4 separate regions of the Homo sapiens genome follow, and regions 2, 3 and 4 are each linked to region 1. The links are contacts of gene promoters, found by promoter capture Hi-C in blood cells and fetal thymus (Javierre and others, 2016). All regions are on one chromosome and are shown on one strand. The core of a region is centred on a gene start or on the middle of the fragment in contact, and the rest is flanking DNA. Distances in the headings are between cores, read along the strand shown.

Region 1 (6,075 bases), core at 1,895-4,394:
TTCAGGTGATTATTTAGGGTACAGGTGATCCCTCCCGCTCCCTCACCCCAAGTCCAATCTATACCAGTTGCTGTTGACATCATCTCATCACTTCCCCCATTCCTAATGCCACCAATCCTGCTTGGAGCCACCATCATCCCACCTGAACAAAGGTAATCACCTCCTCATTGGCCTCCCTGTTTCTGTTCATAAGTCTGAAGGAGTCATTCTCTGCTCAAAGCCACCAATGGCTCCCCATTGCTCAAAAAACAGACATACTTTTCACCATGGCCTAGGAGGCCCACCAGCAGCCCCTCACCTCTCCCACCTCAGAGCCCTCTACTTGCTCTGCCTCACTCCAATCCAGCCTCGCTGGCCTCCTAATGTTCCCTAAAAGCACCAAGCACAATCTTCTTGACACCTGCTGTTCCCTTTGCTCAAAATGCTTTTCCCATAGACCTTCCAACAGCCCAAATGACCTTTCCTCAGACAGATTCTCCCTGCCCAGCCAAGGTAAAATGGCAGCCCCATCCCTCCCTCTCAAACCTCCCCCTCCCACTAATTGTTCCTGTCTTTATCACTTGCTGATTGTTCTTCAGTCTTTATCACTTGCTGACATGATGGTATAGACTTACTTGCTATCTGGCTCCCGCACCAGGATGTAAGATCCATGAAAGTCGAGGCTTTGTCCCTTTTATTCTCTGCTGTATCCCATAGCATCCTGACAGCTAGAGTGTAGACACTAATAAAGAAGAACAAATGTATTGAATAAATGCAGGTATCCAGAGGGGATCATAATAATTAATAATATCCACCCATTATGGTTGTTACAAGGATTAAATGACATCAAGCATGTAAAGAAACTAGAACAGGGTCTGGCACACAGCAAATAATACATAATAACCATTAGTATTATCATCATTATTGTTATGTCTTTTGGGTGGATTTTTAAGATCAAGACGAATTTAGCCACTAGCTTTGCCTTGTCCCAGCTGGGGAACCCCGAGCAAGTCACTTTACCTCCTGCTCCTTCAGCTTCCTTGTCTGTTAATTGGGTTGGAATCCTCCACACCCAGCAGGCTAAAATTGAAGATCAGCAAAATGCTTATCGGCAAAATGGGATGACGTTGACTCTAAGCAGGACTGGTGGCATAGCGGATGGGGGGACGTGATGAGATTCAGTAGATGACGTCAACAGGAACTGGTATAGATTGGACCTGGGGTGAGGGAGCAGGAAGGGATCACCTGAAGCCATTTCTCCACAAACTAGTTATGATGATGACTTTTTATGCTGTAGCTGTTTCTTCAGTTGTTTTGGGTTTGTTTGTTTTGTACATATTGGTGGGGGTCTCTCACTATGTTGCCCAGGCTGGTCTTGAACTCCTGGGCTCAAGTGATCGACCTACCTTGGCCTCCCAAAGTGCTGGGATTATGGGCGTAGTCACTGTACCCGACCATGTAGGTTTTGTTTTTTGGTTTTTTTTTTTTTTTTGCTTTTTTGTTTTTTGAGACAGGGTCTTGCTCTGTTGCCCAGGCTGGGGTGCAGTGGCGAGATCTCAGTTCACTGCAACCTCCACATCCCGGCTTTAACCGATTCTCCCATCTCAGCCTCACGAGTAGCTGGGATTACAGGGCTGCATCAACACACCTGGCTAATTTTTGTATTTTTAGTACAGATGGGGTTTCACCATGTTGGCCAGGCTGGTCTCAAACTCCTGACCTCAGGTGATCTGCCAGCTTCAGCCTCCCAAAGTGCTGGGATTACAGGCGTGAGCTACCACGCCTGGCCTTGGCCATGTAGATTTCTTTCACACCTTCCTTATTCCTTCTTCAGAAGCTGAGGCCCCATGAGGGGAAGCTGGTAGCCAGGGGTCTTTTCAGGTACCTGTGGCCAAATTAGGCCCAGATGTTAATGCTCTCATCCATGGCTGAAAAAGGCCAAGAAACTAAGAAGAGCTGTGGACGCACAGACTGGCAGAGACACCGAGAGGGCACTGCGACCGCACTGCACAGATGAGCAAAGGAAGGCCAACTTCAGCATTCCCTCCTCCTCTCTAAGCCCCTCCAAAAGGCCTGCTCAGGGAGCTCTGGCCACCGTTCTCAAGCAATTGCCTGACGTTTTTACTGACACTGAGGGCTGGAGATGGTCCCTTTTCCAGGCAGCTATGTGTCCATTTCCTAGAGAGGGAAACTGAGTCCCAGAGAAGGCGGGTGTGGCTGGAGGCCATGGGTCAGTCATAGGCATAACCATGCCGTGAATAACCGTCTTGGCACTCTCTGACTTCTTTCCCTGGCAATACAACGGATCCCAGTGCCCATTTGTCACATAAGGAAACTGAGGCTGGCGTCTTCGATGAAGCCTGGCAGGAGTGGGGGTCACACACGGAGTGCAAGGCTGTCCAAGCCTTCAAGGTCATTCTGACTGATCTTTGAGCCTTAGCAATACAGGACGTGGGTCCAAGAGCATTTCCAGCACAAAATGGCGCCTCATAGAAAAATGTAGTCGGAGTTCCAGCGCCCACCTCCACCACGGCTCAAAGGAGGGGGCGCGGGCGGCAGCGCACACTTCATTTGCATATACAAAAATCAACGGATTTCGTTGGCTGGCAGCGGTTTGATCTGCACGAAACTGGGTCGCCCTCTGACCGGTCTCTATCAGTCATTGGCCCATGCGAGTCTCGTGACCCACCAGTCACTAAAGCGCATCCCTATTGGCCCGAGCGCCTTCCATCACGCGTTTAAAACCCCGAGTCCCGCCTCCCCTCGCCACGCTCCGGCCCCCAGGAAGACCGTTAGTCGCGTGCGCGACTTCCTCAGCGTCAGGGCGCGCCCGCGCGTATGCCGGGCCGTGGCGGCGTCTCATTCAAACGGTCCAATCAGCGGCCGCGTCGCCTTCCCCGTCCCCCTTCCTCTCTTCTTCCCCTTTTCAGCCCCTCCGTTCTTTGAGAACCCTCCCGACCCCCGCGGGCCCCCATTGGCCGGCCCGCTACCCAGCCCTCTCCGCCACTTCCCTCGCTTCTGACCATAGTTTGCGGGGAAGGGAGCGAGCGCGTCGAAAACCAAGGAACGTGCGCGCTGACGTCACGGTTGAGGCTCGGAGCTGAGGGGCCGCGGAGGGCGTGGCCTGCGGGCGGTTATAAAGAGGCAGTGGTGCGCGCGCGGCCGGCTCAGTGCTGCCGGGCACCGGGGCGGCGGGTTGGTCTACGCTGTGCGCGGCGGACGTCGGAGGCAGCGGGGAGCGGAGCGGGGCCGCCGGGGCCTCTCCAGGGCCGCAGCGGCAGCAGTTGGGCCCCCCGCCCCGGCCGGCGGACCGAAGAACGCAGGAAGGGGGCCGGGGGGACCCGCCCCCGGCCGGCCGCAGCCATGGTGAGCACGGGCGATGAGGCCCATGAAGGTGGTCGGGGGTGTCCCTGAGGGAGGAGGTGGAGTCTCAGGGGCCTCCGACGGGCGGCCTTGAGGGGTTTGAGGGCCAGCCTGGGGGTCCCTGACCCGGGATGGGCCCGAGGGCCTTCCCGCAGGCGGAGCAGGAGCTCGGGCGGCCCGCAGTCTCCCTGGCGGCGAGGGCTCCGGGCGCTTTGCGGCCCGCCCATGGGTGTTACCAGGAGCAAGGACGCCCCGCCGCCATCTCCAGACCTGAGCCGGGGTTTCAAGGATGCTCTAACCAAAAATTAGTGGAGAAGGGGGAGAGAGTAGATCTCTGGCCTACGTGGAACCACTGGGGACCAAGCAGGGTTAGGAGCGGGCTTTGGGGGGGGGGTTCTGGGGTGGGTGGAGTTATCTGCAAGCCCCCCCGTGAACCCGCCCCCATTTCTGTTGGAAACTCTGCCTGGGCTGATGGCCTGAAGCATCCTGGGTGAGGGTCTGGGAGTTCAAGGGTGATTGACAGCCTGGGGCCACTGAGTCAAGACTTGGGCAGTCTCAGCATCTTTAGGCCCTGCGGGAAGCCCAGCTCTTAACACTCGCTCACCCTGCTCTCCCATCCGTGCCCAGAACTCCAACGTGGAGAACCTACCCCCGCACATCATCCGCCTGGTGTACAAGGAGGTGACGACACTGACCGCAGACCCACCCGATGGCATCAAGGTCTTTCCCAACGAGGAGGACCTCACCGACCTCCAGGTCACCATCGAGGGCCCTGGTGAGTTTGGAAGGAAAAAGAGAAGGGGCTGCTGCTTAGATCCTCCATCACCCTGCTCTAGATCACCCTAGCGGGAAGTACCCATTACAGGCTGGCCTCGTGTCAGGTGTTGGGATGCATTGGTGGACAGGGCAGGACGCCACAAATGACAATTATGTACTCTTTTCCCACAAGGGTTGAGAAATATCTGGTCATTGAGTTAGTATATCATGGGACGGTACTCTAGATTTGAAGCAAGGCTTTCAGACATGGCTTCCCTGGACCTGAGGGTGGGTAGGAATTAAGTAGGAATGGGAAGAGAGCTCCAGGTGGTGGGAATGGTGTCAGCAAGGGCCTGGGAGGGTGGGCCAGGTGATCTCAAACTCCATCCTGCTGTGAGTGTCAGGGATGAGGAAACAAGCCAGATGCAGATCGTGGGGAGACGGGTCATGAATGATTTGCGGGTCACATGATTTGCGGAGTGATTTAGAATACTGTTTCATGCAGGCTACATTTCTGTTATCACCAGAATTCCTACAAAGTCAGGATTTGAGCAGAGCCTGTGAAGGAATGGTCTAGTCCACGGTGGTGATGGTGGTAGGTGGTCAGGAAAGACCTGGCAGCGGTGACAGTTGAGGTCCTTCATGCCTTGCTGCAGAGGGCGCGGGATCATGACAATAGGAAGGCTCCAGAAAGGCCCTTGGGCAGGTGGAGCTGGGCGCTTGGTAAAAACACATGAAGAAAGTTGATGATGAAGCTGCCAAGCTCTTTTAGGGCTTCTAGGCCTCTTCAAGGAGTTTGTAGAGGAAGCTGGTGGAAGGTTTAAAGCAGGGGTGTGACAAATCCCTCCAAAGTTCCTATTGACTGTAGTGAGGAGAGCCGGCCTGGCAGGGGGAAGAACCCAGAGGCCAGCCAGGAAGCTAGCCTTGGAGATGGGATGAGATTCAGGGGAGGACCTAGCAGGCCGGTGCTCAGGCTGCTGATGGGCTAGGGGAGGGACAGTATTTTGACCCAAGCAAGTGGGTGAGTGGGAGAGGCGTTCACTGGGTTGGGAGGCTGTGGAATTAACAGACAGTTGGATCCTTGATCTGAAAGGCATATAAATGGGCATCTTATAGGAAAGTGCGTACTTGGGTCCCTGCCACCTGGGAAGGGCCTGTGACTGGAGTGGTCAGTTGGGCTGAGACGGGGGATCCAGGAGGGTGCAGACGAGCTTGATAGTGACACAGGTGGGGGCTGCAAGATGGGCATCATCTCTGAGGTTTTGGGGGAGGTCCTGTGGCCCCCTAGGAACCCAGCCATTCTTGCTCTTTTTTTTTTCTCTCTCTAAACGGAGTCTTGCTCTGTCGCCTAGGCTGGAGTGCAATAGCACAATCTCTGCTCACTGCAACCTCTGCCTCCTGGGTTCAAGCAGTTCTCCTGCCTCAGCCTCCCAAGTAGCTGGGATTACAGACGTGCACCACCATGCCCAGCTAATTTTTTGTATTTTTAGTAGAGATGGGGTTTCACCATGTTGGCCAGGCTGGTCTCGAACTCCTGACCTTGTGATCCGCCCGCCTCAGCCTCCCAAAGTGCTGGGATTACAGGTGTGAGGCACCGCGCTTGGCTTTTTTTTTTTTTTTTTGGAAACAGAGTTTCGCTCTTGTTGCCCAGGCTGGAGTGCAGTGGCGCGATCTCCGCACACTGCAACCTCCCCATCCCGGGTTCAAGGGATTCTTCTGCCTCAGCCTTCCGAGTAGCTGGGATTACAGGCATGCACCACCACGCCTGGCTAATATTGTATTTTTAGTAGAGACGGGGTTTCTCCATGTTGGTCTGGCTGGTCTTGAACTCCTGACCTCAGGTGATCCACCCGCCTTAGCCTCCCAAAGTGCTGGGATTACAGGCGTGAGCCACCACACCTGGCCTCTTGCTCTTAAGAATTCTACAGCCTGACTGGGCATGGTGGTTCACGCCTGTAATCCCAGCACTTTGGGAGG
Region 2 (6,075 bases), core at 1,170-3,669, 230 kb after region 1:
GCATCCCACTGTATAGAAACCTACAGAAACATATAAATATTTGGCTCTGGGCCGGGTGCGGTGGCTCACGCCTGTAATCCTAGCACTTGGGAGGCTGAGGTGGACAGATTGCCTGAGGTCATGAATTCAAGACTAGCCTGGGCAACATGATGAAACCCTGTCTCTACTAAAAATACAAAAGCCAGCCATGGTGGTGTGGTATAATCCCAGCTACTCGAGAGGCTGAGGCACTGAAACCGGGAGGTGGAGGCTGCAGTGAGCTGTGATCGCGCCACTGCACTCCAGCCTGGGTGACAGAGCGAGACTCTGTCTCCAATAAATAGATAAATAAATAAATGGCTCTGAAAGCTGAAAACCAGCTTTGTGCCAGAATACTTTAAAATATGCTGATTTTTTTCAGAAAATGGGACATATTTACAGTAGGAAAAAGTTTAAAACAGAGGGTCAGACAGAGGAGGCTTCGTGGTGGAGGTGACTTCTGCACTGAGACCTGAGGGACAGAGTTAACTGAGACCAGAGAGAAGGACATTCTAGTCCAAGTTGGAGCATGTGTTGAGGCCCCATATCCAGATTCAGGCCCCATATCCAGATTCTGAGGCTTATTTGGGGAACAAAGAGTCATTTCTCACAATAGCTGCACTCTGGAGTGAAGTGTCTGGAGAACTCAGCAGTATCCATGTCATGAAGGTGATGAAGGCTACAAATATGTTTTGAGCATGAGAGGGACAGGGTCAGATGGTGTTAGGATGACTCCTCTGGAACCCTGTGTAGGACAGATCTGCGGCGAGGGATCCAGGGACGAGGCCAGTGCAGCAGCAGCCTGGAGAGGATAAAAGACATTTGCATTGGATGAGGCCGTTGGAATGGAAAGTGGTCACTGCAGGGTCTGAAAATTAAGTCTCTCAGTGCAGAGTGCAGTGGTTGCCTGGGAGCCAGACAGCCCTAGGTTTCCAACCAAGAAGGACCATTTCCTGGTTGTGTGACCTTGGAGAACTCACTGTCCCTCTCTGAGCCTCAAGTCTGTGGTCACTAACTTGGTATTTCCCCTCCTTCCTTCTCAATAAGGAGCTGTTCAATTAGCATCCGTAAAGGATGCTATTTAGGGTCCTGGTGTCCAGCCCCATCCCTGTCCCTTAAACCAGTGATGTTCAAAGACCGTCTGCAGCAGAATCACACTGGGTACTTGTTGAAATGCAAATTCTGGCACTAGCACCTGACCTATCAAGTCAGAATCCCTGAAGAGGTGACCTCAGACATTTTGCCACAGGATTCAGGGGAATTCAGGTTCACATTGAATTTTAAGAATTGCTGGCCTAGGTTAAGGAGACACCTTCTGCTTTTTCATTCAACTTTAGAATGGCAAGTACACAGTAAATATGCCATTTCTCCTCCATGTTTTGCTGTGCTAAGATCACAAGTAAACATGGCAGTTTGGACTAGCACCCCAGTACATCCATTAGCATGTGAAATAAAACCTGCATTATTCCTGTGGGCAATGGGACACTATCAGCACTTGTTTTAATCTAAGCATGACAAGCACATGTCTAGTTCCTGCCCATAGCAGACACCACTAATCAAACCTTCACAAACATACTGCATCTGTGTTACCACGTCTATTTCCTGCCTGTGGCAGACAGCACTAGTCAAATACTGAATCTGCTTAGCCTGTGAGAGCTCAGGTATAGCCCAAGGGACCTGTGAGCCTCCCTTGGCTTCTGAGCCTGATGGATACTGCTATCAGGGGAAGACTTCACCCACCCTTACCCCTGGCTCCTTAAGGTGCAGCCAGAAGTAGAGGAGCTGGAGCCAGCACCATCCGGGCCAGGGCAGCAGGTGGCAGACAAGCATGAGCTAGGACGACTGCAGTACTCCCTGGATTATGACTTCCAGAGTGGCCAGGTGGGTGTGGAGGAAGGGGAAGCTTTGGAGGGAGGATCCCGGGGGTTCCAACCCCTTCTGAAAGGAGCCATGGAAGGGAGGCTAAGACTAGTGTTCCCCACCTCCCCCACTGTGCCTGGGCCCTGCAGCTGCTGGTGGGCATTCTGCAAGCAATGGGATTGGCAGCCTTGGATCTTGGTGGCTCCTCGGACCCCTATGTGCGGGTCTACCTGCTGCCGGACAAACGGAGGCGGTACGAGACCAAGGTGCATCGGCAGACGCTGAACCCTCACTTTGGGGAGACCTTCGCCTTCAAGGTGAGCTCCTGCCTTCAGGCCCCGTGTTCCATAGCCTGTGCCCAGTCCCTGGAACACTAGGGACCGACCCCTTCCGCTTTTCCTGGAGGCGGCCACAGCTCAGGTGGCAGCTACCAGCTCTGGGGCTATTCCACTGGACCCTGGGCACTACTGACTCCTGGGCTGTAGCCTGGTCCTTGGGCGGTACGATTTGGGTTCCACTGACCCGTGATTTTTTTCCGCATGGATCCCTGGACTTTCCCATTTGAGTTCCCCCAACTGTTCGCTTCGACCCTCGCTGCCTCACTCCATGCCTTCCTTCTGGTTGTGCTGTGCCTCACCCTATCTCTGACTTCCTGCTCTCTACTGCGGATTCTCTGTGCACTCCAGGTCCCCTACGTGGAGCTGGGGGGCAGGGTGCTGGTCATGGCGGTGTACGACTTCGACCGCTTCTCTCGCAATGACGCCATCGGGGAGGTGCGGGTCCCTATGAGCTCCGTGGACCTGGGGCGGCCAGTGCAGGCCTGGCGGGAGCTGCAGGCGGCTCCGCGGGAGGAGGTGAGCATGCGCGGTCGCGCCCCGAGCCACGCCCCCAGGCCCAGTCCCGCCCACAACATCCTGAGCCAATCAGATCATAGGCTTTCCAGACCCTCAGGGCGGCGTGGATTGTACCCCTGAGGAGGCATGGATGTGGAGCCGGGGCTCTGGTGATGGGCCCCTCTCCTTTCAGCAGGAGAAGCTTGGGGACATCTGCTTCTCCCTCCGCTATGTCCCCACGGCCGGGAAGCTCACCGTCATCGTCCTGGAGGCTAAAAACCTGAAGAAGATGGACGTAGGAGGACTGTCAGGTGTGTGGGAAGCAAGGGAGTGGGGTGTGTGGGGATGGCGTGGGGTGGGTTCTCGTTCTGACAGTTTCTGAGCCTCGAGGGTTTCTTCGGGGACAGGGAGGACCTGGCTGCTGTGGAAGGCATGGATTTTGGCATAGAGCTAGGGAGACCCGAAGGGTGTAGGCAGTGTTTCTATGTTGGTCCAACAACCCAGCAGTGGGGAGCTATAAGACTCCTCCTTCCTCTCCCCAGATCCATACGTCAAGGTCCACCTGCTGCAGGGCGGCAAAAAGGTGCGGAAGAAGAAAACCACCATCAAGAAGAACACTCTGAACCCCTATTACAACGAAGCTTTCAGCTTCGAGGTGCCCTGTGACCAAGTCCAGGTGAGCTCAAACCTGCCCTTCTCCAAGAGCCCAGACCTTTAGTAATCGCCATTGCTAGGCGGAGGGAGACTTTTTAGCATCTCCCTAGAAACCAGGTGAGGGGGTCTGAGGTTATGCTCTCAGTCTGTTTCCTCCTATGAGGACCAGGAAGCCTCTTCCACTCCAGGAAGAGACTCCTTAAAATTGGGTGTGGGTGTCCTATCTGCTCTAAGCGGGACCGGGATGTCCCACCCCTAAGCAGTACCAGATGCTCCACCCTAAGCAGGATCAGTATGCCCCGCCCCACCAAGCGGAACCAGGATGCTCCGCCCCCAAGCAGGACCAGGATGCCCCGCCCCCAAGCAGGACCAGGATGCCCCGCCCCCAAGCGGGACCAGGATGCCCCACTCCTAAGCGGGACCAGATTCCCCACCCTAAGCAGGACCAGGATGCCCCGCCCTCCTCAGGAACGTGGTTCTAAGAAAAAGAGACCTCCCCTCACTTCTTTAGGGACGGCGCCTACCCTAGCCCGGCCCCTGTTAAAGTTCTGCAGCTTTGCGGCTCTTAGGAGGCTGCTCCCCCAGGAGGCGCCGAACACACCCGCTCCGCAACCGAGTCCTGAGGGTTCATTTCCTTAGAAACCTGGCTGCGCAGGAAGAAAGGCGCCAGAGCCTCCTCCTCGCCGCAGGCTCCGTCCCTCTCGTCTCCCACCCCCTCCCCCGTCCCGAGCTCCGGGGCCCCGAGCCCTCGGGTGGCAGCGAGAGGTACCCTCAGCCGTGAAAACGGACACCGCCCCTTCCGGGGCCTCCTCCCCTCACGCTCCTCTCTCCTCTTCCTCCCGCGCCCACCCCAGAAGGTGCAGGTGGAGCTGACCGTGCTGGACTACGACAAGCTGGGCAAGAACGAGGCCATCGGGAGGGTGGCCGTGGGGGCGGCCGCCGGCGGGGCTGGCCTGCGGCACTGGGCGGACATGCTGGCCAACCCGCGGCGGCCCATTGCCCAGTGGCACTCGCTGCGGCCCCCGGACCGAGTGAGGCTGCTGCCTGCGCCCTGACTCCCACCCCAAGCCCCCGGCCAAGCCTGGACTCTAGCCCCTGACCCCAGACTCCCGAGACCGGCCAAAGCCAAGCCAGCCCCACCCTTAAGCTTCCTCTGACGGTTACCCTCCCCCCACCTTCCACCCCAACCATCTGAACCATTCCTGTCTTCTCACCCCCAACGATGCCAATCACGACAACTTTCCAGCACACTCCCCCGACCCTCGCGGACACACCCAGATGCCCCAGGGACCCCGGGAAGGGAAGGCAGCCTGGTTTCTCCTGCCCCCGGGTCCTGCCCCCTGCTTTGACAATCAGCCATCCTCGTCTGCTCTCCTCTCTCTTCCAACACAGCCCATCCCTGCACTGCTCCTGGGGCCAAATAAATATTCAGCAGCTCCGGTGGCCTGGGCCCATGCTCCTTGATGGGGGTGGGCAAGGGCTGGGACCCAAGAGGAAACCTCGTTTCCAGGAATGGGCGCTCGCAGGGCGGTGTGAGTGCTGTTCGTCCTGAAAGCCTCTGAGAGACTGGCCTGACCCCATGGACTCCCTCACACTCTCACCCGTTCATTCCTCACTCACCACTCTGAGCCTGGGTTTCCTCCTCTGGAGAATGTTGGGATAATAATAATTCCTGCCACACGCTGGCTGTGAGGAGTCCGCGAGAACTCCCTTGCTTGTCCATGAATTTATCCACTCGCTTGCTCACCCATGACTCACATCGATTTTCATACCCATTTCTGCATCCCTCCCTCCCTCTCTTTTTTTTCTTCCTTCCATTCCATATTCCCTGAGGTCTTCTGTTGAGTGCTGGGGCCCCAGAATATCCAAACACAGACCTGACCCCCCAAGCGACTTACTGCCATCAAAACAAAGGAGAGGCGCGGAGCCAGGGAATACAATCTCCAGAGCCTGCGAGAGAGGTTGGAGTTCAGCAAGGAAAGCCAATGATTTCAACTTCACCTCTTTCTTTTTTCTTTTCTTTTTTCCTTTTTGTTTTCTTTCTGTCTTTCCTTTTCTTTCTTTTTCTCTTGTTTTTTTTTTGTTTGTTTGTTTTTTTGTTTTTGTTTTTGTTTTTTTGAGATGAAGTCTCACTTTGTCGCCCAGGCTGGAGTGCAGTGGCACGATTTCGGCTCACTGCAAGCTCCTCCTCCCGGGTTCACGCCATTCTCCTGCCTCAGCCTCCCGAGCAGCTGGGACTACAGGCGCCCGCCACCACACCCGGCTAATTTTTTTGTATTTTTAGTAGAGACGGCATTTCACCGTGTTAGCCAGGATGATCTCGATCTCCTGACCTCGTGATCCGCCCGCCTCGGCCTCCCAATGTGCTAGGATTACAGGCGTGAGCCACCGCGCCCGGCCCTTCTTCTTTTCTTTTCTTTTCTATTTCTTTTCTTCTCTTCTTCTTTTTTTTAATTTTGAGACGGAGTTTCGCTGTTGTTGCCCAGAATGGAGGGCAATGGTGCAATCTCGGCTCACCGCAACCCCTGCCTCCCGGGTTCAAGCGATTCTTCTGCCTCAGCCTCTTCTTTCTTCTTTTTTTGACAGGGTTTCTCTGTGTACCCTGGCTGGAGTGCGGTGGGGCAATCATAGCTCACTGCAGCCTCAACCTCCTGGGCTCAGGGGATCCTCCTGCCTCAGACTCCTGAGTAGCTGGGACCACAGGCACATG
Region 3 (6,075 bases), core at 2,042-4,541, 170 kb after region 1:
AGATGGCATTGGGGTCACCAGCTGCCCCTTTCGGGATGAAACTGTTAGCTTTTCCTCTACCAAGAAAATTCCAGAGGGGTTAAGAAGTTAAGTGAACAAAACTAAACCCAGAAAGATTTCCGGAATGGAAAGTGGATGACTGGTTTGATCATCTCAAGGCTGAAGATGCTGCCCCGCATAGCTCCTGTAGCAGAAGCCAGGTCAGCTGAGGCTGCCAGTGCCACGGGGACATGGGCTGCCCTGCCCTAGACCCACTGTGTGCCCAGCGTGGTCTCTGCTCCGCTGCTTCTCAGTGTCTAGGAGGGACTAAGGACACTTGCCTTGGAAGGTGGTTGTGAGAATGAAGTGCGTGAGTAATGTCTGTCACATACTTAGTGTCCTTTAAGAATTAACTGTCCTTTATCCATTGATCTTTGTGGCAGAATTTTTCATGAATTTGAGACAAATGATCCCTTGAACTGTCCGTAACACGTGGGACAGAATGTGGACCCTGATCATTAGACCCTCGTGGTGAGGGAGGTGGGGCCCTGGCAGGCACAGTTTAAGTTTTGACGTGATTCTTTTTCCCATAATTTAGAATTTCAGCCGCGGACCGTAGACATCTTGAGGTTAGGGGATGTGCTTTATTGGGCTGTAGTCTCACATTCTGCTTGTGCCTGGCTGGTGTGAGTGTCAGCCTCCTACAGATGCCCCAAGGATGGGGACAAGGGCATGGATCTGAATCCCTCTCTGGCACCTGTCCTTGGAAGAGCCTGAGGAGAGTCGCTTAACATTTCCGAGCCCCATTTTCTCACTTCTAGAGCCAAGGGAAACAGCCTACCTCAATGAGTGGTTTTAAGGATTTAAAGTGATCATATGTGAGATGTTGATATTCATGTATGCGTTGCCCCTTAGGACCAGTGGTTCGGGTTGTGTGTGAATTTGCAGATACCAAATCTGCAAGTAATGAGGGTCAGCTCTGTGTTGAGTGAAGAAAGAAATGTGGCCTGTCCTGTGCTGCCCCCACCCCCAGGTGGACCTTCTCACCATGCCTTGCCTTCTCTCCTAGCGCACCTTTTGACAAGACAGCCAACATCACCTTCTCCCTCAATGCTGACGATGAGAACGTGAGTACTGCCCTGTCCCCTGGTTGTGGCGGGTGGAGGGGTGTGGGGCTGTGGGCAGTGTGGCCCATCCTCCCACCCCTGTGCCCTGCAGCCCAACGCCAACCTACTTGAGATATGCTACAAGGACCGCATCCAGCAGTTTGATGATGATGAGGAAGAGGAGGACGAGGAAGAGGCCCAGGGCTCAGGGGAGTCTGATGGAGAAGATGGCGCCTGGCAGGGCAGCCAGCTGGCCAGGGGGGCCCGTCTGGGCCAGCCACCTGGTGTCCGGTGAGTCCCCCTCCAGTTTCCCTTCTCCAAGCTTCCACCACACGGCAGGGCCAAGGGGTCCCCCCAACACATTTGGACTGAGGCTGAAGTGAATGAAGAAAATAAGGAACCTGCATTGGTGTGTGTATTAGTTGGGGGCACTTTCACTTTTGAGTGATAGAAATCTAATTCAAGGCCAAGCATGGTGGGCTCATGTAATCCCTGAGTGCCTGTAATCCCAGTACTTTGGGAGGCCAGGGCAGATGGATTGCTTGAGCTCAGGAGTTTGAGACCAGCCCTGGGCAACATAGGGAGATCCTGTCTCTACAAAAAATACAAAAGTTAGATGGGCATGGTGGTGTGCACCTGTAGTCCTGGCTACTCGGGAGGTTGAGGTGGGAGGATGGCTTGAGCCAGGGAGGCAGAGGTTGCAGTGAGCCGAGATCATACCACTGCACTCCAGTCTGGGCAACAGAGCCAGACTTGTCTCAAAAAAAAAGGTAGATGATGCATTAAGAAATCAACAAATTAGCCGGGCACAGTGGCTCAAGCCTGTAATCCCAGTACTTCGGGAGGAGGCCAAGGTGGATGGATCGCTTGAGCTCAGGAGTTTGAGACCTAGCCTGGGCAACATAGCGAAACCCTGTCTCTACAAAAATTACCTGGATGTGGTGACGTGTGCCTGTAGTCCCAGCTACTTGAGAGGCTGAGGTGGAAGGATCGCTTTACCCTGGGGGGCGGAGGTTGCAGTGAGTTGAGATCGCACCACTGCACTCCAGTCTGGGTGACAGAGACCTGGTCTCAAAAAAAAAAAAAAAAAAAAGAATCAACAAATTAAAAAAAATCAGCCGGGCACGGTGGCTCACGCCTGTAATCCCAGCACTTTGGGAGGCTGAGGCGGGCGGATCACGAGGTCAGGAGATCAAGACCATCCTGGCTAACATGGTGAAACCCCGTCTCTACTAAAAATACAAAAAATTTGCCGGGCGTGGTGGCGGGCACCTGTGGTCCCAGCGACTTGGGAGGCTGAGGCAGGAGAATGGCGTGAACCCGGAAGGCGGAGCTTGCAGTGAGCCAAGATTGCGCCACTGTACTCCAGCCTGGGCGACAGAGCGAGACTCTGTCTCAGAAAAAAAAAAAAAAAGGAATCTAATTCAAATGAGTTAAGTTATGAAAAGAAAGGGATAATCTCTGTGGCTGAAAAAATAGGCAGGTCCTGAGGTATGGCTTGGTCTGTGTGTGTCTCTCTCTTCCCGCCTCCCTGTCTCCTTCCTTCATCCCTTCACTTCACTTCCTCGTGTTAGCTCTCACACGTTTTCCTAGAAAGGGGGGTAAGATGGTCCCAGGCAGCTTCTCTCTTCTCTAATTCCAGTAAAATGAGAGATGATGACGTCCCTCTCCAATCAGGCTGTGATGACATTTTAGTGCAAATGTTACATTGTTTTTTTTTTTTCTCTTAATACTGGCCGGCCCCAGAGTCGCTGTGATGAAATGGGTTCATGCCATGTAGATTTGACAGCCTGAACACTAAGTCATCATCTGCAACTGAGTTTTTGACTCATGACTTTTGATTTCGGAATTAGGCTGTTTTCACTTTTTATTGACATGTAACATGCGTATAGACAAGTGTACATACAGATCCTGAGTGTGTGGCCAATGGATATCCTTCCTCAGTGCCCAGACCCAGGAGCAGGACCTTCCCAGTACCCACATCCCCTCTGTTAGCCAGTATCCTCCCTTCTGAGGGTAAAGTTGTCCTGGCTTCTAACCCTGTAGATGAGTTTTGTCTCTGTTTTCACTTGATATAGCATACAGCATCTCCTTTTATGTCTGACCTCTGTTGCTCAACACTCTGCTTGTGAGCTCCTTCCCTGTTGTGTGTTTGGGTGCCCCTGGCTCTCGTGCAGTGGGGCAGTGCCATGCATGATGAGCTGCAGCTGAATTGCTTGTTCTGCAGTTGACAGGCCTTTGGGCAGGTTCCTGTTGCTCGCTGCTGTGAGTGCAGCCGCTGTGAGTGCGGCCGCTGTGAATACCCTTGCACGTGTTGTTGGTGCACAAGTGTGTCACTGCCAAATCCAGCATCTTGACTTAGCCCTCTCTTTTCTTCTAAGAGTTTTATAGCATTATTTCTATGGTTTTCCATTCATTTTGAGCTAAATTTTGTATATGATGTGAGGTGGTCCACCTTCATCCCTTTACATATAGATAACCAGTTTTCCCTGCACCAGTTGTTGAAGACACTGTCCTTTCTCCACTGAATCATCTTGGCACCTGTGTAAAAAGGAAATATTTGACCATATGTATGAGTTTGTTTCTTCCCTCTCTGTTCTGTTCTATCAGTCTGTGTGTTGTTTTTATCCAGTACCACACTGGCCTGGTTGCTGTTGCTTTATAGTAAGTTTTGAAAATGGGAGGTTTGTTGGGCACGGTGGCTCACACCTGTAATCCCAGCACTTTGGGAGGCCAAGGTGGATGGATCACCTGAGGTCAGGAGTTTGAGACCAGCCTGGCCAACATGGTGAAACCCCATCTCTACTAAAAATACAAAAATTAGCCGGCTGTGGTGGGTGCCTGTAATCCCAGCTACTCAGGAGGCTGAGGCAGGAATATCGCTTGAACCTGGCAGGCAGAGGTTGCAGTGAGCTGAGATCGCACCATTCATTGCACTCCAGTCTGGGTGACAAGAACGAAACTCCATCTCACAGAAAAAAGAAAATGGGAGGTTTTAGTTTTCCAACCTTGTTCTTCTTTTTAAAGATTGTTTTGCCCTATTTGGGATTTCTTGAGATTCCATATGAATTTTAGGATCAGCTTGTCAATTTCAACCAAGAAGCCACCTTGCGTCTTCTAATACGTGAACATGGATGTCTTTTTATATAGGTCTTAAAATTTCTTTCAACAATGTTTCGTAGGTTTTAGAGTATGAGGCTTTGTATTTCTTTTAAGTTTATTCCTGTTTTCTTCTTTCTGTTACTATTGTAAATGGAATTTTCTTGAAATTGTTTTCAGATTGTTACAAGTATATGAAAATACAATAGGTTTTTGTATGTTGATCTTTCATCCTGCAACCTTGCTGAACTAATGTATGAGTTCTGATAGTTTTAGTGGACTCCTTAGGATTTTCTATGTACAGAATCATGTCATGTGAATAGAGTTCATTTTCCTTCCTTTCAAATCTGGATGATTTTAATTTCCTTTTCTTGCCTGGTTGCCCTGGCTAGCCTCCGGGACAATGTTGAACAGAAGTGGCAAGAACAGGCATCCTTGTTTTGTTCCTGATCTTAGGGGGAAGCATTCAGCGTTTTGCCATGTAAGCATGCTGTTAGTTGTGGGGTTTTGTAGATGCCTTATGTTAGGTTGAGGGGCTTCCTTTATACTCCTTAGTCGTTGAGTATTTTAGTTTACTTTTAACTATATACAGATATATTACTTTCCAGTTAAAGTAGTCAGTTACTCTGTTAAGACAAAAATATTGGGTCAGCATTTTAGACATAGTATATAGTCCCATACTGCATCTTTGGGTCAGCGATGGACCACATATGACAGTGGTCCCGTGAGATTATAATCCTCTATTTTTGCTGTATTTTTCCTATGTTTAGATACACAAACATTTACCATTGTTAGAATTGCCTGTAGTATTCAGTACTGTAACATGCTGTATAGGTCGGTAGTCTAGGAACAATAGGCTATACCACAGAGCCTAGGTGTACAGGAGGCGCCACCATCCAGGTGTGTGTAAGTGCACTCTAGAATGTTCACACAATAGCAAAATCGCCTAATGATGGCGTTTTTCAGAGTGCACCCTCGTTGTTAAAGCTTAGTTTTAGTGTTACTTTGCTTACCCCTTCCCCGGTTGATCAGCACGTAGGTTGCTTGGATTTTCTTCATGCTCACAGGTGTGTGTTAGTCAACATTCAGCCAGTGTTTTTGGAGCAGCTATGGGTGCCTGGTGGTTTCTCAGGGCTGAGGATACAGCAGTGGCAAAACTCAGCCATCTCTGCCTTCTTGGAGTTTCTAGTTGGAGGGAGAGAGTAGTGTGAAGCCTCTGTCCAGAGGGTGGGCCTGCTGGTGGGAAGGCCTGTCACTGTGGTGACCGTGTGAGGTGACGGCTGGGAGGTGGCTTGAGAGCTGGTGAGTGGGTCTGTCTGCTCTGGTTGCCATGGCTGAGGCTCAGCCCACTTCCCCAGGGCCTGCCCTCCACGGATGACTGGCGACGGACGGTCTCCTTACGGCCGCATTCTGTCCCTGCCCGCCTGTGTTCTTGCCGTTGGCTCAGAACTCCCTCTCCCAGCCTCTCCTGGTGTCGTCACACCCCAGGCTCCCTGGACCCTTCTGTGACCTGCCTGTCATCCCAGCCCGCTCTCCTTGGGCTGACCCTGGGCTGCAGGGAACAGGATGGGTGTCGGCCGGTCTGTCCCACACAGCTAGCTGACGAGGTGGTTTCTGGGGCAGGAGTGGAGGCAGCACAGACAGTGAGGACGAAGAAGAGGAGGACGAGGAGGAGGAGGAAGACGAGGAGGGCATTGGCTGTGCAGCCCGTGGAGGGGCCACCCCTCTGTCCTACCCCAGCCCTGGCCCTCAGCCTCCAGGTGAATGAATGGGCGGTGTGGTCAGGTGTACACAGGGCTGTCTGCCTGCTACTGAGTTCACCCTCCATCCCGCTCCCCCACCTCTATCCCAGGCCCCAGCTGGACAGCCACCTTTGACCCAGTGCCTACAG
Region 4 (6,075 bases), core at 1,777-4,276, 150 kb after region 1:
TTGTGACTCATGAGCTGTGAGTTGGTGAGTTGTGTATTGCGAGTCACCACCATCTTTGTGGCCATTAGCTTTTGTTGGTTCATCTACTGTTTCTTTCCATTAGAGGAGAACCTGCTTGTCTGGTCCCCCTGCCCATTTTTTTTCTTTTGTGGGATGTGTGGCCCAGTGCTCTTAACAGAACACCTTTCTCTGGCTTCAGTTTTCATTAATTCAACAAGTAGCTTTAGTTGGGCCTGGCCTTATGCTAGATCCTGGGAAGTCGGCATGTTTCAGGGGGAGGCAGATGACTGAACAGGTACATCCTGTCACAGAGCCGAGGCTCACATGCTGTTCCAGGGTGACTGCGGGATGCTGTGGAAGCGGCGTGGAGCAGGCCTCTAACACAGATGCGGGGGGGAGGCTCCCTGGAGGAAGTGGTGTCTGTGTGGGGGCCTGAAGGACCCAGGAGGAGCTAGTCAGACTCGAAGAGCTCCGGGAAGGAGGAGGGAGCAGCCCAGCCCCGGCTGAGGGCAGTCAGGTGTGACGCCCACGCGGGAGGTAGCAAGAGATGAGGTGAGAGAGGCCTGAGAGCTTTGGTGAGAGTGAGGGGCCTTGCCAGAGTGGGAATCACTCGGCACCCGGCTTGATGGGGCTCACCTGCCTTTCCATGCCAAACCGTGGTTTTCCCTTTGCACACCAGTTTTGTGGGTCCTTCTCCAGAGAGTGCTGCCTTATAGTAACCCCATCTGTGAGGTATTTCCCGGATAAGGAAACTGGGGCTCGGTGGGGTGAGATCCTTGGTCTAGGCCACAGAGATTTCAGTTTGGGGAGGTCAAATGGGAATGCAAGCTTTTCTGACTTTGGATCACACTGTAACCCTAACTCTGCCCCTTTCTGTTTTTCCAAAGAGCTATTTCAAATCCGTTCATTGGTCTTTTCCTTTCTTTCCTTTAAACCTGTGGCCAGTTCAGGAGACGATTTGAATGTGGATGTTCAAGTCCCCGTCCCAGTCCTTGGCCAGTGTTTCTAGACTCTTCTGTTTCCTAGTTATTCCATCCTCTGGGGTTGGACCAGGGCTGCTAGCTCCCTTGGGAGGGTGTGCTTCTGGGGCCAGAGGGGGAGGCACTGAGGGTTCTCTTTAAGTGGGGACCCTCCCCAAGGCTTTCCCAAGCCACAGGAAAGCCCTAGCTCATCATCTTGTTGGGCCTTGGGCCGCTCCCCCTTCTCCTCTGGCCCCAGTGGCCCTTTCTATCAAATTGGTGTCCCTGGTTCCTCCTTGCTGGGTGGGTGATGCCGGATTCTGCAGCCGGCACACACCGTAGGTCCTGCCCAGAGGTGGTGGGGTTGCCATTACTGTCACTGCATCCCTGGAATTGGGTGTTCCCAGCCCCCTTTCAGATTTGGCTGAGAGCTGACAGAGGCTTGGGGGACATTAGAGGGAGATGGTCTTGCTGTCCTCCGGACTCTGGGCCCTTTAAGGAGCTGGGTGCTGGCCAGCCTGCTGCTGGTAGCAGGCTCTTTCCCTTCCTAGGGTACCGGCCAGGGGGCCAGGCGTTGGAGCTTCTGCTGAGCATTGGGACAGCTCAGGCAGCTGTTTCTGGAGGCCCCCTGAGGCATCTGTGCCCATGACCTCCATTTCTGGGTGCTCGTGGGTCAGCGCAGGTTGGGAAGGGGTGACAGATGAAGCATGGGCCCACCGGTTCCCTGGCGGCAGAGCTGTGCTTGGGCGGATACGTGCAGCAGTGGGGATGGCTCTGTGGGAGCCGCAGTTAGTGCCTGTCCAAGCAGGGGAAGGAAGGGGCTGGCAGGCCCTTGAGGGGTGGCTGGTGTTGAAGGCCCTAAAACACCACAGCTAAGTCAGAAACCAGAGGCAATAGTGCAGAGCTGGTGGAGGGAGAGCGGCAGAGGTAGTTTTCGTTTTTAATGGCTTCCTTTCTCATTTACAATTTCCCCTTCTTCCGTTTGCAGCCAGACTCATGGTTTTCAAACGGTAGCTAAAAACTAGTGGTAGTCACTTCCGCTTTCTTGAAGTTGCTAAAAGTTGCAAAGAATGGGGGTGGCGGGGTGCATGGCGCCTGCCGTAGTATCCGAATGGTCTGAGGAAAAGTACTTGAGTCACTTAGGCAAATGGGTAGAGTCTTTCTCCTGCTCCTCTGTGTTTAGCACCATCACCTTTGGGGTAGTGACCGGTCCCCTACCTGTCCTGCCAGAAAGCATCTGGACGTGGCCTCAGGGTTGGACCGGAAGAGACTTGCACCTGCTGAGCTCCTGCTGTGTCACGGCCACCTGCTTTAGCTCAATGCCTTTTCACAGCAGCCCGCCCTGGTGGGCTGTGTCTCCTTTTCACGGATGAGGAAATGAGACTCAGAGAAATCAAGCGCCTGCCCAGGTTCACCAGGAGAGTGCGAGTGAAACCCACTCTCCTGCTCCATTCGCAGGGATTCTAGCAGGCTTCATTAGGTTGGGAGAGGGGACTGAGAGGGCTTCAGGCCATAGTGCATTCAGAGGTTGTGGTGGGGGAAAGTTTTTTTCTCTTTTTTTCTGTTCTTCCATATTTGCATCTTCATTCTGTTTAGAGCCTGATAATTGAGGTCTGTAGAGTGTCGACCACTCAATTGCATTTGAGCCTTTCAGTCTATTCTGATTTTCAGAGGAGCCACTTGAGATGGAGAGTTCAGGGCGCTGCCTGGGTTCTCAGGGCCGAAGTTCTTGGATGCCGTGCACCAGCGAGCACCCTCCCGTCTCATTCTGGCTGCCCCTGCCCCAGTTGTCTGGGGAGCTCGGTTTGGAGGGGAAGCCTGACCTTTTCCCCGAAGCAGATGGTTAGTCTGTACCAGGGGTAGGGGGTTTGGGGGCCGAGGGCCATGCCTGTGCCCTTTAATCAGGTATCTTAGAAGTGAACGGTGGGCCTCAGTGTGAGAATTTCTGCCTGTTGTTTAGAGACCAGGGCACACTGGAAGCCTCTTGCTAGCCATGTGGCTCCACCCCTCTGGGCCCCTCTTCCACATGAGACTCTGTCGGAATAATAAGAATTCTTTACTTGGTCTTGATGTGGAGCCGAGACAAGTGTCTCTGCAAGTGCGGGTCCATGGATTTTCTACAGATGCTGGCTTGGTGCTGCTCCTATCCCGTCCCCACTGTGGAGGGGCTCACTTAGCTTAGAGCTGTTGGTGGTGAGGGATGGGGAAGGGGTAACCTGGGTGAGTGCCCCAGGGCTGAGCCTTGGCAGCTTCAGCTCTGCCAGGCTGGCCGGCATCTCATCAGCTCTGCGGACGCTGGGACATAGTGCAAGGCCTGAGCCTGGCCCTGGCTCTGTCCCTGCCATGGCCGATGGCCTGAGGCAGGTTTTTTTTTTTCCCCCAACAGTTTTTATTGAGATATTCTGTACAGTTCATCCATTTAGAGTGTACAGCCAGGCGCAGTGGCTCACGCCTGTAAGCCCAGCACTTTGGGAGGCCGAGGCAGGCAGATCACTTGAGGTCAGGCATTCAAGACCAGCCTGGCCAACGTGGTGAAACCCCGTCTGTACTAAAAAAATGCAAAAATTAGGCCGGGCGTGGTGATTCATGCCTGTAATCCCAGTGCTTTGGGAGGCCCAGGCAGGCGGATCACAAGGTCAGTAGTTCGAGACCAGCCTGGCCAATATGGTGAAACCCCGTCTTTACTAAAAAAACACACACAAAAATTAGCTGGGTGTGGTGGCGCACTCCTGTAATCCCAGGTACTCAGGCTGAGGTGGGAGAATTGCTTAAAACCGGGAGGCGGAGATTGCAGTGAGCCGAGATCGCGCCGCTGCACTCCAGCCTGGGTGACAGAGCGAAACTCTGTCTCAAAAAAAAAAAAAAAAAAAATCAGCCAAGAATGGTGGTGCGCACCTGTAGTCCCCACTACTCGGGAGGCTGAGGCAGGAGATATGCTTGAACCCAGGAGCTGGAGGTTGCGGTGAGCCGAGATCGCGCCACTGCACTCCAGGCTGGGTGACAGAGAGAGACTCTGTCTCAAGAAAAAAAATAATAAATAAAGGGTACAATTCAGTGGTTCTTAGTGTATTCACAACGTTGTGGAAACATCACCACAATTGATTTTGGAACTTTTTTTTAATCACCCTTTCCTTTCAGGAACTTCGCCCAATCCCCGCCAGCTCCTGGAAGCCTGTAAGCTCTTTTCTGTCTCTATGGATTTGCCTGTTCTGGATGCTTCACATAGTTGGAGGCCTGCAGTGTGTGGTTCCTTGGGACTGGCTTTGCTGGCATGGCATGGGCAGCCTATCAGCCTGCTTGGTCTCCCACGGAGAAAGAGGCTGTGTGTGTGTGCTTGCCACGTCTCGGTGCTTTGCTCGCCACAGCCTTAGGCCGGAAATTGGCAGAGTCATGATAAATTTGGCGGTTGCCCCTTGAGATTATTCTGGTCCCAGGTACACCCAGATCAGGAAATCCATTCCCCCTCCCGCTTCCCTCAGCACGCTGGTGAGTCACCTTTGCTGAGCCTGAGTTTTCTCATCTGTGACATGGACACTTGGTGGTCGGCCTGTCGCATTCCTTGTCAAGCGGGCTGGGAAGTAGGGGATGGTCCCTTGAGGAGGTCTAGCATCTGGGCAGAAGTGGGGAGGTGGGGAGTTACCACTGTGCACACAGAGGTTCCCGGAGCAAGGAAGGGAAACAGTTGTATTTCCTTGTGAGGTGGTGGTGCCTTCGTCACTCTTGACACAGGGGAAAATACACACCCATTGCCTGCCCAGGGCGATCTTGCACTTTCCCCCACCTCCTGATTTAGGGACCCCGTAGGAGTGGCTGGGAGGGGCCGGAGTGGGAGTGATTTCACTTCGTCTAACGCCCTGACAGGTACGGCAGCCTCCTGCCTGGGAGGAGCTGGGGCCTTGTGAAAATGAGGTTTGCTTTTCAGCTAATACTTGTGAGCGTTTATTGCCAGGGCCAGGTTCCATGCTAGGTGCTGCCCTCAGGTGCCCATGGTAACCTAGGGGGAAGGTTCTAGAGGAAGCATTGTAGGGCCACGAGTGTGTACCTCCAGTGCTTCATTGCTGTGTCACAGAGATGCTTCCAGGCGGCAGGTCAGAACGCACAGCTCAGGGAGACAGGGAGACAGTGGTGGACAAAGGCGGGGCTGGGGGCTGCTTGAGCCAGGCAGGCCAGGGAAGGCCCTTCTGTGAGGTGAATGCTTAGTAAGAGATCTGAGGATGAGAAAGTGAGTTATTAGGACAAAGTCGCTGGGGTAGACCCAAGCTTAGTGTGTTCTGAAAACAGAAGGCCAGCTTGGCCAGGGCAAGTAGGGAGTGGGAGGTCATTGAGGGTCCCAGGCGCTGACCCGATGAGAGGGCGGTTCTGATTTTCCCTTCAGCAAGCTCTGCATGGCTGTGGGGAGAGGGAACGAGCAGGGGTCGCCTGCGGTCGAGTGTGGGGGGCCTGCCGTCAAGTGGTGGTCATGCAGGCAGAAGGGGTGGGATGGTTATGTTTGGGGAGGTCAGCGGTGCCTGGGTCGGGGTGGGAGGCCTGATAAGTCCCTAGATTTCTGGTGGTGCTGGGTTGGAGGAGAACTCAGGCCTCTGGCCGAACTGTGCTGTCACAGCTGGGCTGGGAGGGTCCTGAGGACCACAGCCCTCCATCCTGAATCCAGGGATGTCTGTTGAGTAAGCACTAGCAGCTGGGGACAAGGTGGACAGGGAGTTTACCATCCAGACAGGTCCCTTCAGGGTGGGCCTGGAAATGGCAGGCTCCTCCCTGAGGTGAGAGTCGGGGTCACTGTGGCCAGGGCTAGTCCCTCAGGCAGAGCAAGTGCTGGAGCCGGCTCAGCGGGAACTCGCTCATTCATCCCTTAAGTGTCCACTACACAGGCCCTGTGCTGGGACAAGGGCTCTGCACCCTGAAAATACAACTTCTGAAAGCTGAGAGTGCCAGCTTCACTGCCCGCCAACCCCTGGATCGGGGCATAGGCATTTACTTTGGTGTGCCTCAGTTTCCTCTCCTGTAAAATAAGGCCATTCCCTGGAGGGTGGTTGTGAGAGTTGGTGGAGGTGATGGCTGTGAAGTCCTTTTCAGAGTAGTCAGCGCAGTGCAGGTGCTGGAGCGCAGTGGCTGATAC

What was found. The method cuts DNA at HindIII sites, captures the fragments that hold promoters and counts their contacts. A CHiCAGO score of 5 or more calls a contact.
Region 2: a fragment that was not itself captured here is called in contact with the fragment with the promoter of UBE2S in region 1 in 16 of 17 cell types (erythroblasts, total CD4 T cells, naive CD4 T cells and 13 more); the score reaches 16.0 in erythroblasts.
Region 3: a fragment that was not itself captured here is called in contact with the fragment with the promoter of UBE2S in region 1 in 13 of 17 cell types (non-activated CD4 T cells, M2 macrophages, naive CD4 T cells and 10 more); the score reaches 11.1 in non-activated CD4 T cells.
Region 4: a fragment that was not itself captured here is called in contact with the fragment with the promoter of UBE2S in region 1 in 17 of 17 cell types (naive CD4 T cells, non-activated CD4 T cells, fetal thymus and 14 more); the score reaches 15.2 in naive CD4 T cells.

The regions. Positions count from the first base shown.
Region 1 is chr19:55,404,857-55,410,931 of GRCh38, reverse strand. It overlaps UBE2S (ubiquitin conjugating enzyme E2 S), which reads left to right and starts at 3,144. Exons shown (of 4, transcript NM_014501.3): 1 at 3,144-3,345; 2 at 3,970-4,117. The coding sequence starts at 3,343. It overlaps LOC105372462 (a long non-coding RNA gene), which reads right to left and starts at 2,787. Exons shown (of 3, transcript XR_936075.3): 1 at 1,000-2,787; 2 at 615-721. RefSeq lists enhancers at 2,386-2,495, 2,517-2,811, 3,168-3,681 and silencers at 2,916-2,965, 2,976-3,035, 3,046-3,515. The HindIII fragment of the contact is 9,685 bases long and covers 1-6,075 here.
Region 2 is chr19:55,171,829-55,177,903 of GRCh38, reverse strand. It overlaps SYT5 (synaptotagmin 5), which reads left to right. Exons shown (of 9, transcript NM_003180.3): 4 at 1,780-1,899; 5 at 2,028-2,195; 6 at 2,565-2,732; 7 at 2,905-3,022; 8 at 3,254-3,387; 9 at 4,220-6,075. The coding sequence ends at 4,420. Among named protein-coding and RNA genes, the nearest start is that of SYT5, 5.4 kb to the left of the region's middle. The HindIII fragment of the contact is 992 bases long and covers 1,924-2,915 here.
Region 3 is chr19:55,231,944-55,238,018 of GRCh38, reverse strand. It overlaps PPP6R1 (protein phosphatase 6 regulatory subunit 1), which reads left to right. Exons shown (of 24, transcript NM_014931.4): 16 at 1,049-1,106; 17 at 1,198-1,376; 18 at 5,808-5,944; 19 at 6,037-6,075. Among named protein-coding and RNA genes, the nearest start is that of MIR6804, 4.0 kb to the right of the region's middle. The HindIII fragment of the contact is 3,764 bases long and covers 1,410-5,173 here.
Region 4 is chr19:55,250,152-55,256,226 of GRCh38, reverse strand. The region is part of intron 1 of PPP6R1 (protein phosphatase 6 regulatory subunit 1); the gene reads left to right. Among named protein-coding and RNA genes, the nearest start is that of PPP6R1, 5.8 kb to the left of the region's middle. RefSeq lists enhancers at 1,070-1,119, 1,420-1,559, 1,960-2,069, 2,080-2,299, 2,530-2,609 and 1 more. The HindIII fragment of the contact is 4,391 bases long and covers 831-5,221 here.